2 separate regions of the Homo sapiens genome follow, and region 2 is linked to region 1. The links are contacts of gene promoters, found by promoter capture Hi-C in blood cells and fetal thymus (Javierre and others, 2016). All regions are on one chromosome and are shown on one strand. Each heading gives the region's core, a stretch centred on a gene start or on the middle of the fragment in contact. The rest is flanking DNA. Distances are from core to core; before and after follow the strand shown.

The links. Contacts are between HindIII fragments. The CHiCAGO score rates a contact against its expected background, and 5 or more counts as called.
Region 2: a contact is called between a fragment that was not itself captured here and the fragment with the promoter of SFT2D1 in region 1, in 1 of 17 cell types (non-activated CD4 T cells). The highest score is 5.4, in non-activated CD4 T cells.

What each region holds. Positions count from the first base shown.
Region 1 is chr6:166,341,082-166,343,880 of GRCh38, forward strand. It overlaps SFT2D1 (SFT2 domain containing 1), which reads right to left and starts at 1,464. Exons shown (of 8, transcript NM_145169.3): 1 at 1,338-1,464. The coding sequence starts at 1,400. It overlaps LOC100289495 (a long non-coding RNA gene), which reads left to right and starts at 1,550. Exons shown (of 2, transcript NR_040022.1): 1 at 1,550-2,066. RefSeq lists a silencer at 1,175-1,334 and an enhancer at 1,396-2,289. The HindIII fragment of the contact is 4,850 bases long and covers 930-2,799 here.
Region 2 is chr6:166,732,677-166,735,475 of GRCh38, forward strand. It overlaps a transcript of RPS6KA2 not described here. Among named protein-coding and RNA genes, the nearest start is that of RPS6KA2, 110 kb to the left of the region's middle. The HindIII fragment of the contact is 2,072 bases long and covers 380-2,451 here.

The DNA.
Region 1 (2,799 bases), core at 214-2,713:
CTGAACATGTGAAATGTGGTTGCTGTGACTAAGGAACTGAATGTTAAATTTTATTTAATTTTAATTAATTTAAATTTAATTGCTCCAGGCGCAGTGGCTCAAGCCTGTCATCCAAGCACTTTGGGAGGTCAAGGTGGGCGGATCACTTGAGGTCAGGAGTTCGAGACCAGCCTGACCAACATGGTGAAACCCCCATCTCTACTAAAAACACAAAATAATTAGCAGGGCATGGTGGCAGGTGCCTGTAATCCCAGCTACTCAGGAGGCTGAGGCAGGAGAATTGCTTGAACCCGGGAGGCAGAGGTTGCAGCGAGTCGAGATCACGCCACTGCACTCCAGGCCTGAGCGACAAAGCAAGACTCCATCTAAAAAAAAAAAAAAAAAAAATTCATTGGCCACATGTGGCTGTGGTAATATACAGAGTTACAGAGTGCAATGAGAACAGATACTTGTCTTACACTCTCTGAACCCAAAACTGTAGCCCAGAACTCTACCCACACCAAGTGCTGAGTAAGTATAATGACAAGGAAGTCAGGAGAGACAAATAGAAGATCCTTATGAAATACAATTCAATTTTAAACGTCCAACTTCTGCGACAGCACACAATAACGTGCAATATAATCGCATGCAATAACAAAAAAACTTACACCGCAGTTCCTGCTCCACTGCTACTTTTAACCTTCTTGCTGGAGGAAGTAACCCTTATCAAGTCTCGCTGGTAAGGCGCAGACACAAGGGCTTTTATTAAGAAAAAAAAAAAAATCTCTTACCAGGGCTCACTGCCTTAACAGAAAAATTTTAATTCAATATTATTTCACTTACCAATGTCCTGTTTATTTTTCCTCCAGTCTCCCTATTTCCAAAAGACCACCCCCCAGCAAACACACACATAACACCACCTTTACCTCCAAAGACAAACAGATGCAACAAGCTTTAGGGTCTCGGCTCACTGCAGCTTGCAGGATAAATGCCCTGCATAGCTACTTACGCTGCACAGCCCGAGGCCAGACCCCGCACCAGGCTCAGAAAACCAAATAGTACGTGGGAGCGATGGATTATTTGGGAAAGCGAGGGCAGACGTTAGCGGATTCCTAAGTCAGAAGGCCAGATGGGAGAGTCGGGGGGGGGCCTCAAAGTGGGTTTAAGTAGACCGCATGGAAAACTGGAAAGTTCTCAAATTCTACCCAGGAAGCAGGCGGAGCCCTCCTAAATCAACCAGCCGGGCAGAGGAGTCCCAGACCCCCGGCCTCGCACCCACCCCACCCGCTCGGCCGGTCCTCAGTGCGGCCGGGGCCAGCGGGCAGCCCCGGGACTGGACGAGGGCGCAAGTTCGCTACCTGCGCAGTCAGGCCCTGCTCCTCGTCGTCCTGGCCGCTCAGGACTCGCCGCAGCTTCTCCATGGCCCTGTTACAGGGCCGTAGCGGCCGCCACTCTGTTGCCTGCCCCTGACGCCCACCAGGAAACCCCGAACCCGAAACCCCACAGACCAGCCGGAAGTCCGGTCCCGCCCGCTTCCTGTGCGTCAGCGCGGCCGCCGTAGCAATGCGCGCATGCTCACCAGCCTTTCTCTCGGACCCGGTAGTGGTCCGTGAAGTCCGCGGAGTGGGCGCTGATGGTGGGGCTATCCCTTCCCACTGTCCGCGAGGTGCGCCGTGGTAACGCGCGGGGACACAGCGCGGGTGTGGACCCCCTGCCCACAGCTGGCGCACAGCCATTGAGTGTAGACCCGACTGGGGCACGACCACTGAACCCTGCACTTGGCGTCCTCCGGGCCCCGCGAGGGGCCTTGCTGGGCGGGTCCGCGGCACCCCGGGTTCCCAGAAGTCGAGGCCCCGAATGCGCCTCCCCTCGCCTGGAATCGGAGAGCGGAGGGCTCCTGCGGGCAGGTGGCCGTGCTCCGAAGAGCGCCCTGCCACCCATGAGGTGGCCCTGGGGGCGTCGCTAGCCTTCCCAGCTGGGTGTCCTCATCCGGAGACACAAACACCTGCCTCAGGATTAAAGCGAGGAGCTGTATTTCAGACCGTCTCAGGAGAAATAGCAAGAGGCTGCCTCACTCCTTTGCCCTTGTGAGAGCTATTTCTTTACTCAGTTCACTGGTCAGCTAGGAGTTTGAAAGAGTGAAATCTTATTTATAAAAGGAATAGCTAATGCAACCCATTTTTCCAGTTTTGTGTGAACAGTGAAACCATTGAACAAGCGTTTACTGTTCTCCGGCTCGTGCTGGATGAACAAACACTAAGAAATGGGGAAGTGGCATTTTTCTCTCTCTCATTTTCCACCATGCTAAGAAAGGAGATTAAAAATCAGGGCTGCCTGTCTAATATGGTCTCCAGAAGTCATTAAGTGATAGGTTTTGCTCTTCTGTTTGCTTCTAGGCTTGGTAAGATGGTAATGAGAATGCCTGTTCTTTTGATTACTTTGCCCACTCCATTTCCTCCCTAAAATCTTTCAGTTAAAAGGTGGATCCTCAAAAAGTTTCATTGTCCATCCTACTGCCTCAGTAGAGATTTTATCTAAACTCAATTAGATAAAAACAAATACCACAGGAACCCTAGGAAAGCAAGTCGCGCCTTCTTGTGATGAAACGGTCCAATGCTCAGCATCCTTTTCCTTTAGGCAGAAGATATTTCTATGTGGCCTGTTCATACTAATATGAGAAGTCTTATCCTTATGTCCTTAACTTTAAAAGGTCAGAAAATAGATTGTAAAATCTATAGAATAAAACTATGTTTCTGTTGAATAAGAGAGTATGTCCGTAAGTGTTACGGGAAAGGGGTCCGGATCCATACCCCAAAAGAG
Region 2 (2,799 bases), core at 166-2,665, 390 kb after region 1:
AAGAAGCTCGGAGCTCCCACAGATGATGTTAGGTGCAGAGATGGGGGTGCACCCAGGGCACAGCACAGGGGCCCGGTCAGAGCCTCTTCCTACCAGAGGTGATGACAGGGGGATGACAGGGGGAGCTGTGAAGGCCACCGGAGGCTGAGTCTGGTGGAAGGAGGCAGGGAACAGCCAAAGTGAAGGCTGCTCTGGTTCAAGTTGGTGTTCAAATAAAAGTAAGTCACAACAAAACAAAAGACCTGAAGTGAAGCCTGCTGGCTTAGAGGAAATGAGGAACCGGAGCGGCTGGGGTGCAGGGTGGGAGGCAGGGGTGCACACTTATGCATTTGCCCAGTTTTGCATCGGATTTCTGGAGGTTTGGGACCCTCTTTGCAGAAGCTTTCACGAGCCTAAGGGTGAGATGCTCTGCCCCCTGTGGATCGAGCCTACCCTGTACTCAGGGCCATGCCAAACCATTGCACATCATTTTGAGCCTTCAGAACATGATATCAAATTATACTTGGATGTCACATTATCGGCCAGAATGGGAGTACTTTTGAAAGCCTAATAGCCTTAGGCTGCAAGAGTCCTGTGGACGGCACTGTTCCCAAAGTCACAGACCCTTTATGGACATGCAGGACTGATGCCGCCACTGTCAGTAACAGCAGTGGTGTTGGCCGTCTTGATCAGTTTATTATGTCTTGGAACTCATCCTTGAATTAATTGGAATGTTCTTTTGCATTGTCGTCCAGGAAATTTAGAGGCCAACGAGGGCAGGATCTACTCCCAAAAAGACATAGGGACCCTTACAGTACGAGTTTTGGGTACTAACCCCATGGCTGACCTTTCTGATCTTTCCTCATTCGGATCTTATATTCCTTCTTCTCATCTCATTTTCTTCGTCTGATAATCTTAATTTTATCTTGTAGCATGTATGTATGGAAGCCAGTGCCAGTCTCTTTAGGAAAAAGGTTTGGTAACACGGAGGTCACTAGCATCCCTCGTGGACAGTTTCCATGGAATGTCCCAGGCACAGGTCACATTTCAGCGGGTTCCGGAGCTCACTCTAAGTGGGGAAGTGGAGGCTGCCCTGGTAGGTGCCATCCCTAAACTGTTTGGGAGAGAAGAGGAAGAGAGAAGTAAAAGGAAGGTTTCTGCGTTTTTCTGTTTATAAAGCGGATATGAGCAGGTTTACAGGCTGAACAGAGTAAACCAATAGAAAGAGAAATGGTAAAATGAAAAACTGAGATTTCTAAGGAAACTGTAGGGTGTGGAGTAGGATCACTGCTAGGGTGTGGGAACAGAGGACTGAGGGGTGTTGACCTCCAAAAGCAAAGGTGCATGCAAGCGAAGGGACATTGGTAAGAGGGAGGCAGGAAGTTGAGGTAAGCTGATAGATTGCTTCAATTTTCCCCAACAATAGGATATGAGATCACCTGTTTAGAGGTTGGGACAGGCCCTGAGGGGAGAGAGGAAAGTTAGGTATGGCCCCTGAGGGGCAAGGGGGCCGAGGGCTCCTGGCAGGAGCTTAGGATTCATGGCTAGCAGCAATTCTCACTCTTCTTACTAGTTTATAACTCCCATTAGCAGAACCCGAGCACTCTTGCCTCGTATACCTGTTTCTCTCCTTAGCAGGGGTCTAAGATGTTGACATCGACCCTTTGGAGTAAGGGTTTATACTGACATGAATTCTCAACTCAAGATTTTCTCCCTAAGGGCCACCTACCCAAACGGAAGAGCAATAGGTCCTCTTTTCCATATTCAGGTGCTAGGAAATAAACGTAAGCTATCAGCAAGCCATCACCATCTTACCATCCAATGGTATATAATTACTCTGTGCTCACAAGCAGCGGCTGATATTGGTGAAGTAATTAGGAGGTTCCCGGCAATCATTTCTTTCATGTCCCAATTAAGACACTCAGCCATTGTTCATTAGGGGTGTTAAGAAAGTCAATGAATTTAAGCACAGGTCTGTGGGGCCTGAAGCACTGCAAGAGTCACTGGGGGCGTGCTGATTTTCCCTGTGACAATGTGCCTTATTCAACATGAGAGGGAGCGTGTGTGGCTGAGGCTGGCATACCTAAGACCATGGAACTGGTGCTAAGCAGTGCCCTGCTTTATTTATAAATCACTTCCTCCTTTGGGGGTACTTAAATATTTTATAAATTTGTCTCATAAAATGTTAAACATCCTCACCTTTACCATGACAGTGTTTTCACATACAGAATGAGAAAATATCACAGATTTTGAAAGTTCCTATCCTCTTGTTATGGCAATCAGTGAAACATTATTCAGTCAGAAAGAAGTCTCAGTTTAGAAACTGTAAACCTTTATGTCTATAGCCTTGCACTGCCACTGAATTTAGATCCAATTTCTGAATTATATCATTCACAAAAAGACCATCTTGGATTAAGTTTCCATCAAACTTGGAGAACTCTGAGAAGGCCCTAAGCGTGTCCATGCTGGAGAAGCTTTGGCAGGATAAGAAGAGCTGGAAGGGGCATCCTCCTGCCCAGCCACTCCGCTTCAGGCTGTGCTGCAGAGAAACTTCTGCACCCATCAACAAGGAAATATGTTTATAGCAATTATTTGCAAAAGCAAACAACGTGACACAAAACAAAACAAAAAACTGAAACAACGTGAACATCTATAGTAGGAATTGACAATACTCTCATGGCGGACTAGTCTCCATTTAGGGCAGCAGTCCCCAATCTTTTTGGCACCAGGGACTGGTTTTGTGGCAGATAATTTTCCATGGATGAGGGTGGGGGACAGTTTCAGGATGATTCAAGCACATGACATTTATTGTGTACTTTA